3 separate regions of the Homo sapiens genome follow, and all the other regions are linked to region 3. The links are contacts of gene promoters, found by promoter capture Hi-C in human tissues and cell types (Jung and others, 2019). All regions are on one chromosome and are shown on one strand. The core of a region is centred on a gene start or on the middle of the fragment in contact, and the rest is flanking DNA. Distances in the headings are between cores, read along the strand shown. Region 1 has its middle 150 kb from the start of LINC01429. Region 2 has its middle 86 kb from the start of LINC01429. Region 3 holds the start of ATP9A (ATPase phospholipid transporting 9A (putative)).

The links. Contacts are between HindIII fragments. The study calls those that stand out against the background at their distance.
Region 1: a fragment that was not itself captured here is called in contact with the fragment with the promoter of ATP9A in region 3 in 1 of the 25 tissues and cell types used here (spleen).
Region 2: a fragment that was not itself captured here is called in contact with the fragment with the promoter of ATP9A in region 3 in 1 of the 25 tissues and cell types used here (stomach).

Annotation. Positions count from the first base shown.
Region 1 is chr20:52,007,365-52,011,157 of GRCh38, reverse strand. No RefSeq gene overlaps it. Among named protein-coding and RNA genes, the nearest start is that of LINC01429, 150 kb to the right of the region's middle. The HindIII fragment of the contact is 6,604 bases long and covers 1-3,793 here.
Region 2 is chr20:51,947,193-51,950,535 of GRCh38, reverse strand. No RefSeq gene overlaps it. Among named protein-coding and RNA genes, the nearest start is that of LINC01429, 86 kb to the right of the region's middle. The HindIII fragment of the contact is 4,362 bases long and covers 1-3,343 here.
Region 3 is chr20:51,766,748-51,770,217 of GRCh38, reverse strand. It overlaps ATP9A (ATPase phospholipid transporting 9A (putative)), which reads left to right and starts at 1,828. Exons shown (of 28, transcript NM_006045.3): 1 at 1,828-1,916. The coding sequence starts at 1,849. The HindIII fragment of the contact is 32,964 bases long and covers 1-3,470 here.

The DNA of each region.
Region 1 (3,793 bases), core at 747-3,246, 240 kb before region 3:
AAACCGTATTCATGCATCACTTTTTCTGGATCACCCTCTCCCCATCCAAAAATAAATAAATAAATAAACAAAATGAGGTCCACAGTTTCGACAAGACCAAGGAGGTGTCCTTGCAGTCAAAATGAATAGGCAAAGCTGCTTAGTCCTGTAACTGCTACTTCATCCCGGACTCACAGCACTCCCGGTTTGACATTTGATTCCCTGAAAAACATCTTATCAGATCAACAATGATTGCCGTCCAAAAAAGAAAAATCCCCTGCCTTTCCTCCATAGGAGGGATGTCAGTCACTGTGCAGAGATTCTAAAGCTCCGAGGCCATGACCAGCAGAGGAGTCATGGCGCGTCTGAAGGGATAAGGGCAGATAAAGTGTATCAAAGGGGGCCTTGACACATGGGATGCTACGCAGGCCTTCTCCAGAGCTTCTCTGGCCTAACTGACAGGGGATTAATCCACGGGAGGGCGATAAACAACGGCTCAAGTGGGATTGAGGCCCAACACCTGGATACGAGGTTGGATCCAGTCTGGGAGGCTCACCATGCTGCGAAGGAACACAATCTCTCCCAACACACTTCTTAACCGCCCCTTCTGCTGCTTGCAGGGCCTCTAGCTTGACACTCTTCCCCTTGAATAACAAGTTTGAAAAATAGGTTGGGATTTTGTTTGTTTGTTTGTGTTCTGTGCTTGTGAGCCAGAGAAACTGAAGAGTTTAGAAATTCAACAGTTGCCTGCTGAGAGTTCTTATAGAAAAGGGTTTCATTTGACAACCAAATGCAGTGGGGCAGATCTTGCTTGGATCCTGATTCCATCAAATCCAGGGTAAAGCAGGCATTTTTGAGATGCTGAGGACCTTTGGGTAGTAGATGATATCAAGGAAACATTGTTTGTTTTGTTGGACAAGATAATGGCATTGTGTGGGAGTTTTCTTTAATAAACTTTAAAAACATTGATGAATACTAAGTGTATAGGGTAAAATGACACGAAGTCAAGGATGCTTTTTTTTTTTTTTTTTTTTTTTGAGACGGAGTTTCACTCTTGTTCCCCAGACTGGAGTGCAGTGGTGCAATCTCGGGTCACTGCAACCTCCGCCTTCCGGGTTCAAGTGATTCTCCTACCTCAGTCTCCCGAGTAGCTGGGGTTACAGGCATCTGCCACCAGGCCTGGCTAAATTTTTTGTATTTTTAGTAGAGACAGGGTTTCACCATGTTGGCCAGGCTGGTCTTGAACTCCTGACCTCAGGTGATCCACCCGCCTCAGCCTCCCAAAGTGCTGGGATTACAGGCATGAGCCACCACACCCAGCCCAATGATGCATTTTTAAAAAACTTTTTAAATTATATGATACACTTTTTAAAAACTTTTAAAATAATAATTGAGCACATTTATGCGGTACATAGTGATGTTGTGATACATATAATGTATAGTGATCAGATCAGGGTAGTTAGTCATGTCCATCATCTTTGTATCATTCTTTGCACTGGGAATATTCAGTATCTTCCTTCTAACTATTTGAAACCATATAACATGTTTTGATTAACTATAGTCATCCTACAGTGTGATATGCTTTAAAATATAAAGGTGGGGTAAGGAGAGGAGACTCTCTGAAGTAAGTGTTGCAAAATCTTAATTACTGAATCTGGATAATGGCCTATGAGGGTCCGTAGTACTATTCACTCTACTTTTAGGTGTGTTCGAATATTTTTGCCAAAACAATTATAATAATTGTAATAATAAGCTTTTTTAAATGTTCCAAAGAGGCCAGGTGCGTGGCTCACACCTGTAATCCCAGCACTCTGAGAAGCTGAGGCAAGTGGATCCCTTGAGCTCAGGAGTTCAAGACCAGCCTGGACAACGTGGCGAAACCCCATCTCTACAAAAACTACAAAAATTAGCCGGGTGTGGTGGTGTACACCTGTAGTCTCAAAAAAAAGAAAAGTTCCAGAAAGTGTCAGTGTTGGTGTGAAAATTCAGAGTTCTACATCAGTTGGTTCTGTGACCTGGCCATGCTTTGTAAGTGCACTAAATCATGAACACATTCTCTTTTTTTTGAGACAAGTTCTCGGTTTGTCGCCCAGGCTGGAGTGGAGTGATGCAATCACAGCTCATTGCAGCCTCAAACTTCCAGGCTCAAGCAATCCTTCCACCTCAGCCTTCTGAGTAGCTGGGACTACAGGTACACGCCACTATGCTTGGCTAATTTTTATTTTCTGTAGAGACAGGATCTCGCTATGTTGCCCGGGCTGGTATCAAACTCCTAGGTTCAAGTGATCCACCTGCCTAGGCCTCCCAAAGTGCTGGGATTACAGGTGTGAGCAACCACGCCCGGCCATGAACACAATCTTATCTGCATGGATGAGGCAGAGACGCCCTTCAGAAAGTGGTGGCCGGCACCGTCAGTGGCAAGCAGAAGCTGAGTAAACTGAGATGATGGTTTTCTTTTTTGGGTTGCACTGTCTCGTTAGCAACACCGCTGCCCCTGACTGAGTGCTTGCTCTCCACAGACGATCTCATTTAGTCCTTATGTGAGATCTATTTCATTGCCCCTCTTTTACAGATGAGGAAAGTGTGGTTCAGAGAGGTTAAGTAAATTTCTTAAGGCCACCCAGCTAATAAGTCATAGATCCAGAATTTGAACTTAAGGAAATCAAATTTTAGATCCTATGCACTGCTTGATAACCCCCTCCCCTTTTTTTTTCCTTTTCTTTTTGAGATGGAGTCTCACTCTGTTGCCCAGGCTGGAGTGCAGTGACATAATCTTGGCTCACTGCAACCTCCACCTCCTAGGTTCAAGCAATTCTCCTGCCTCAGCCTCCTGAGCAGCTGGGATTACAGACACCCGCCACCACACCTGGCTAATTTTTGTATTTTAGTAGAGATGGGATTTCACCATGTTGGCCAGGCTGGTCTTGAACTCCTGACCTCAGGCTATCCACCCATCTCGGCTTCCCAAAGTGCTGGGATTGCAGGCATGAGCCACTGTGTCCGGTCACCTTTTTTTTCAGATGAAGTCTTGCTCTGTCACCCAGGCTGGAGTGCAGTGGCGCGATCTCAGCTCACTGCAACCTCCACCTCCCAGGTTCAAGTGATTCTCATGCCTCAGCCTCCCATGTAGCTGGGACTACAGGCAGGCAACGCCATGCTCAGCTAATTTTTATATTTTTAGTAGAGATGGGGTTTCACCATGTTGTCCAGGCTGGTCTTCAACTCCTGACTCAAGTGATCGACCTGCCTCGGCCTCCCAAAGTGCTGGGATTACAGGCGTGAGTCACGGCGCCCAGCCTGATACCTGTTTTTTGTTTGTTTGTTTGTTTGTTTGTTTGTTTTTGTTTTTGAGACGGAGTCTCGCTCTGTCGCCCAGGCTGGAGTGCAGTGGTGCGATCTCGGCTCACTGCAAGCTCCGCCTCCCGGGTTCAGGCCATTCTCCTGCCTCAACCTCCCAAGTAGCTGGGACTACAGGCGCCCGCCACCAAGTCTGGCTAATTTTTTTGTACTTTTAGTAGAGACGGGGTTTCACCGTGTTAGCCAGGATGATCTCGATCTCTGACCTCAGGTGATCCACCTGCCTCAGCCTCCCAAAGTGCTGGGATTACAGGCATGAGCCACCGTGCCCGGCCCAGCCTGATACCTGTTTTTAACAAAGGAGAGGAGAAAAGAGGAGACAAGGACGATCCGCACAAGCCTTGCTTGCCTGCCCTTACTTGGCATCAGAATCCTTGTTAGTTATTTTGCTCCAAATGACCCATTTGGATTTTTTTCAAAACTCACTCAGTGAAATCTTGCTCACAGATTCTGTTCT
Region 2 (3,343 bases), core at 804-3,303, 180 kb before region 3:
TATTCTGGCTGGGCTTGAGTGTACTGGTGCAATCATAGCTCACTATGACTTCAAACTCATGGGCTCAAGCATTTTTCCCACCTCAGCCTCCCAAGTAGCTGGGACTACGGGTGCATACACCACCACGCCTGGCTAATTTTTTGTAGAGACAGGGTCTCACTATGTTTCCCAGGCTTGTCTCACACTTCCGGCCTCAAGTGATCCTCCTGCTTTGGCCTCCCAAAATGCTGATATTACAGGCTTGAGCCACCATACCTGTCTACATGCTGAATTTTTTAATTTTTTAAGGCAACAGAAGAGTTTATAAGAGATAAGAAACAGAGACCAGGCATTGTGGCTCACGCCTGTAATCCCAGCACTTTGGGAGGCTGAGGCAGGCAGATCACCTGAGGTCAGGAGTTTGTGACCAGCCTGGCCAATATGGTGAAACCCCGTCTCACTAAAAATACAAAAATTAGGCAGGTGGGGTGGTGGGTGCCTGTAATCCCAGCCACTTGGGAGGCTGAGGCAAGAGAATCGCTTAAACCCGGGAGGCGGAGTTTGCAGTGAGCTGAGATCACACCACTGCACTCCAGCTTGGGTGACAGGGCGAGACTCCGTCTCAAAAAAAAAAAAAAAAAAAAAAGAGAAACAAGAAACAGAATAACACAATGTTTAGGAAAGAAGCTTCCAAAATAGTCTACATCTAAACACCAGCTTTAAGACTTCCTGGATTAGCTGCTTTTCCTTTCTGAACCTCAGTTTGTTCATCTGTAGAATGGACACAATCATCATGTCCACCTCATAGGGTCATAGTGGGGATGAAATATTAAGCATTCAATAAATGGTGGCTGCTGGTATGCTTACTGTTATAATTATCATCATTATTTTTACTCAAGTTTTATCTTTGTTTTGGATAAAATATATCTGATGGGTTCTCTGATGTGGAAACAGGCTCAGAATCCTGAAATGAGGAAAGCATTATTCCACAACCTCCCAGGGCAGCAGAAATCCTCATCTTTTCCTCTAAAAATATGAGTGTGTACAATGTGTCACATGTTAACAGGCTCCGGGGTTTTGAGCTGTGGTGTCTACCTCCACGTTTCCTAAGAGGTCAAATGACCTCCAGGTTTCATTTAAGTTTTCTATTATTCTCTTCTGAAAGGGACAACGGAGCTCTTGTTTGAACGGCTTTGGTGAGCCCAAAGGAAAATGTGGTCATTATAGACAGCACAAAAGATTCGCTTTCCATACATTAGTTTGTCAATTGCTTTCTTAATGCAAGGTTGGGTAGGGAAATAGACAGTGGGGGAGGAAAAAAAAAGATTATTTTGTGTCCACAGATAGATGTCAATATTTGACAGCAATAAATGAAATTTCATATCACATCTTTGCAAACATAAAAATCGTACAATAAGAAGTCCTGTTAAGTTTTCACTTTCTCTCTTTTCCACTGGTCTTCAACCATCACTGTGCTATGTGATGTTTATTAGATCAATAGAAAGAAGTGAGGGAGCAACACAAAGAATTGGTTTTGTTGAAATTTTAGTTGCTTCTGTCCCCTCAAAATAAAACATATGCGGCCGGGCACGGTGACTCACGCCTGTAATCCCAGCAGTTTGGGAGGCCAAGGCGGGCGGATCACCTGAGGTCAGGAGTTCCAGGCCAGCCTGGCCAACATGGTGAAACCCCATCTCTACTAAAAATACAGAAATTAGCCAGGCTACTCAGGAGGCTGAGGTAGGAGAATGGCTTGAACTCGGGAGGCAGAGGTTGCAGTGAGCCGAGATCGCGCCAATCCACTCCAGCCTCAGCGACAGAGCAAGACTCCATCTCAAAAACAAAACAACAACAAAAAAAAACTGACTTTATGATCCAGCACGAAGTTGAATATAAAGTCAAGACTATCTTAACATGCTGAGCTACAATTTTTCTCGGGAAAATTAAACAACTCCCAAAACAAAAGAAAAAATAATATTTATTCATTCTTAAGGACATCCTCAGAACTAATGCAGAGGCTGTCATTATGACTTGCATTTGGTTAAAAACACAGCATAAAGTAAGCTTATTTTTGTAGCTTTGATTTTTTTTTTTTTTCCAAGGAGATTCATTCTATCGCCCAGGCTGGAGTGCAGTGGTGTGATCTTGGTTCACTGCAACCTCTGCCTCCTGGGTTCAAGCGATTCTCTTGCCTCAGTCTCCCGAGTAGCTGGGATTACAGGCACCCGCCACCATGCCTGGCTAATTTTTGTATTTTTAGTAGAAACGGTGTTTTACCATGTTGGCCAGGCTGGTCTTGAACTCCTGACCTCAGGTGATTGATCCAGTCACCTAGGCCTCCCAAAGTGCTGGGATTACAGGCATGCGCCACCGCACCCAGACAGTTGTTTTATCTTTTGGTACTATAAATAATGCTGCATTGATGAACACTTTTCATATAAGACATTAGATATTTGTACATGTATAAGTATGTCTGCACAATAAATTCTTGGAAATACAGTTACTGGTTTAAAGGACATATATGTGTTTGTAATTTTGATAGATATGAAAATGACTGTGTTACCACATCCTTGCCCACATAGTATGTTATCAAAGTTTTTGATCATTTGTCATTTAGTAGGTGAACAAAACCAGTATCTCCCTATAATCTATTTTGCATACCTCTTATTATAAGGAAGGTTAATCACTTCCCACATGTTTAAAAGCCACTGGTATTCCCTTTTCTGTGAACTATCATATATATCCTTGTTTCAGTTTTTCTGGCAGACTCTTGGCCTTTTTCTGATTGATTTTTAGAAACTCTTTATATATAGGGAAATTAATACTTAGTAATATAAGCTGCAATTATTTTTTTCCAAGTGTCTTGTCTTTTCACTTTACTTATTATAGTTTTTGCCATGCAAGTGTTTTAATTTTATAGCTTCTGATTTATGTGTCTTAGTAAAAACGATCTCCCCCTCTTCAAGATTATTTTAACATTCTGATAGCTTCTTCTAGTGCTTTTATAATTTGTTTGTTTGCAATGAAATTTTTTATCCTTTTGAAATTCATCCTTGGGTATGCTTTGAAATGTAGCTCTAAGTTTATAGTTTTTCTAGACAGCCACTAAGTTATCCCAATACCATTTATGGTATAATTCATCTTTCCCCCTTACTCACTTTTGTTTGTTTGTTTTAGAGACAGAGTCTAGCTTTTTCGCCCAGGCTGGAGTGCAATGGCGTGATCTCAGCTCACTGCAAACTCTGCCTCCCAGGTTCAAGCGATTCTGCTGCCTCAGCCTCCTGAGTAGCTGGGATTACAGGTGCCTGCTGGCACACCCGGCTAATTTTTGTATTTTTAGTAGAGACAGGGTTTCACTATATTG
Region 3 (3,470 bases), core at 579-3,078:
CAGCAATTACTAATGACATGCTTCTTTTCTTGAGGAACTTCTCTGGTGCATGAGATAAGTCACACTTCTTGGTTTGAGATCCACCTCAGACACTGGGATATTTGGTGGCTCCATCCTGTGTGACAGCAAACACAAAAGGCATCCACTTGCTGGCAGTTAGCACTAACTTAAAAAAACAAACAAATAAAACAAAATAAAAGGGCCAAGCGCAGTGGCCCGTGGGAGCAGGGAAAGGCTTCTGGTGAGAGTTGGAAAGGTGGACTGGGCCGGATGCTCTTCCTTCATCCCAATTAAATCTCTATGGCATTTAGCAAATGCCAAGGAAGAGCCCAGCACTTTGGGAGGCCGAGGTGGACAGATCACATGAGGCCAGGAGTTCAAGACCAGTCTGGCCAACATGGTGAAACCCCATCTCTACTAAAACTACAAAAATTAGCCAGGCACATGTATAACCCCAGCTACCCGGGTAGCTGAGGCAGGAGAATTGCTTCAACCTGGGAGGCAGAGATTGCAGTGAGCTGAGATTTTGCCACTGCACTCCAGCCTGGGCGACAGAGGGAGATTCTGTTTCAAAAAGAAAAAAAAGAAACGGCGTCCAACATGATCAGTCATTAGATGTAACTATGTAAAAGTCAGCTTTAGATTAGTTTATATGGTATTATTACAATTTCAGGCTCTTTAGTTACATATTGATTTTTAAACTCCCTCACTTTGTTCCTTCCCTCTGTTTTTTTTTTCCTGCTCTCATAACTTTATCAGGCCTTTGAAAAGTTCATGGGTCCCAGACACTGTGTGGGAGGGTGTGGAAGTGAGTGTGGATGTGGGCTGCGGTGGAGATAGGTGTGTGTGTGAGACCGTGAATCACAGTGACAGGTAATGCAGGGTGACTGTCTGAGGCCTGAGAGTGGGGCCCATGTGCAAGCCCAAGAAAGTGGCTGGTGTGAGAATGAGGGTGTTCAGACTATTGAAGGGTGTTTGGATGAAAGAGGCAGGTGCGTGTGTGTCATGGTGAGTTCCCAGAATCCAGATAGAGAATGAGGGTGAGGATGGTGAAGGTCAGAGGGTGAAGGAGTCTGATAAGCTGAGGGTCCCTGTGTGACTGTGATTTCTGCAGGCACATGGGTGTGAGGCTTGAGAAACTGGGTGCATGGATGATGGTGACCAACAGGAGGGTGAGAGTGTTATGTGTGTGTGCAGGACTCACATGTGATTGTGAATGTTAGATGTTGCAGGCAGTGAGCAGTGGCAGGTGTGTGTGTAGGGCCTGGGCGTGAATATGCACGTTGGTGCAAGAGTGAGTGAGAATGACTGACTGATGGGGTGAGCGTGGCCGGGTGCCCGTGTGATTGTGCATGTCAGATATTGGTGGGGATGAGTGTCACAGCGCGCGTGTATAGGGCTGGGATGTGATTGTGAATGTGGGATTTTGCGGGGGGTGCGGTGGCAGGGTGCGCGCACGGCGGGCGTGGGCGGGGGGCGCGTGGCCGGGTGGGCGCGCGTGGGGGGCGCGGGCGCGGGCCGGGGGCGGGGACACTGCAGCGGTCGCGGCGGCGCGGACACGGCCCGGCCGCCCCCCGTGGCAGGCGCGGCGCGGCGCGGAGCGAGCGGGCGCAGCGCGGAGCTCGGGCCCATGGTGCGCCCGTGTCCGTCGGTCGGGCCGCGCGGGCGCTCCGCGCGTGGCCCGGCGCTCGCGAGCTCGCCCCCTCGCTGCGGGCCCGGCCCGCCCGCTGCCGCCGCCTCCTCCCCCGGGGCGGCGCGGCGCCGGCGGGCGGCGGCGCGGAGGCCGGACCGGGCGGCGGCCCAGGCGGCGCGGGGGGCGCGGCGGCCAAGGCGGGCGGCGCCGCCGACATGACGGACAACATCCCGCTGCAGCCGGTGCGCCAGAAGAAGCGGATGGACAGCAGGCCCCGCGCCGGGTGAGTGGGCCTGGGCCCGTGTTTTCCTTTGTCCGCGCCTCCCGGAGCCCGGCGCTCGGGCCAGCCTGGCCGGGCCTGACAGGTTGGCCGCGCGCCGCGCCCGGCGCCATGAGCCTGGGGCAGGGCTGGGGAGGCGGGGAGGTGGGGAGGGGGTCCCTGCGCTTCAGCCCCGGGCGGCACCTAGCCTGATGCCGGCCCTTTGGGGTTCGAGCGCCCGGTTGCCTGGGCCTCCTTGCCCACCTTCCTTTAGAAACCCCGAGAAGCCGGGCCCGCCCCAGTGCTGTTTACACACTCGCGGAATTCGGATCAGCCGTGCTTTCTCACCGTTTTATTGTTCCGTAATTAATATCTGTCCGTAATTAATATCTGAGGTAACAATTTGGTCAGTGTCACACCGAGCTCTGCGCTTGGAGCATTACTCGGGAGCCCAGATATGCTCAGCTTTTAGGGGGGCGCGGCCTACGCCTCGGGGTACCCCATCAGCGCCCCTGGGTCCCAGCCCCAGGAGGCTGCGCCGAGACCACCTGCGCTCCGGTGGCCCCTTCCCCCTCCGCCCGGGGTGGACCCGAACCAGCAGTCGCAGGAGGGTGGGAGGGTCTCCTACTGGCCGCTTGGTGACACTACCCCTTGTGTTCTCCCCCCACAATTTCGGGGAAGGAATCCCACGGCTGGGACAGGGGCTGCCACCTGCTGTGCCCTTCCCGCAGTAGGAGACCCCGAGGGCAGCTTAGGCGCGGAACAGGCAAGGGTTTTTCTGCATTTGGGAAGAGGGGACGGGTTGGTATTTTGCGCCTCGCCGTCTTCCTGTTCGGAGGATGGCAGCGTGACGCGTTGAGGTTTGCGGGGCTCTCGTATCGCCTGCCATAGACTTACCTGGGCGTGAGGGGCGGGGGTGGGAAGGACGGGGGTGGGCGCTGGTGCAAATGCAGATTTCCCGGCCCCCGCCTAGACCCGCCAATCAGAGTTCTGGGGGGCGGGGCCTGGAGATGTGCAGCTCCACAGGCCGCGCAGGTGAGGCTGGAGCCCGCGGGAGGCTGAGCGCGGTGTTGGGCGGGGCCTGCGGCCGCTCTGCTCCGCCCTTCCTCGGGCGTCTGGTCCTCTCTGGGCATTTCCCGGTGGCGGCCGCTTATTGCAGCGTCAGTTGCTCGGAACAGGAGACGCGGCGGGTGGAGTGAACCATAAGGGTGGCTTCACCAGGTGTCAGTGGAATTAAAAAAAAAAAAAAAAAGAATGGTGCTGGCGGCCATTTTGTGGGGTCTTTGTCCCTGGCTTCCTGAATCCTCCGAAGAAGAGGCCTCACTGATATTACCCAGAGGAGGAAACTGGAGGTTACGGAGGTTAAGGGCTATAGGGAAGACTGCAAAATGGAGATTGAACTCCGGATTGTCTGACCCAAAGATAGTTCCCTCACTCCTCCCTTCTCTGTTTTGCGTTTATTATTATTAGTATTATTATTATTATTGAGACGGAGTCTCCCTCTGTTGCCCACGCTGGAGTGCTGTGGCGAGATCTCGGCTCACTGCAACCTCCGCCTCCCGGGTTCAAGCAATTCTC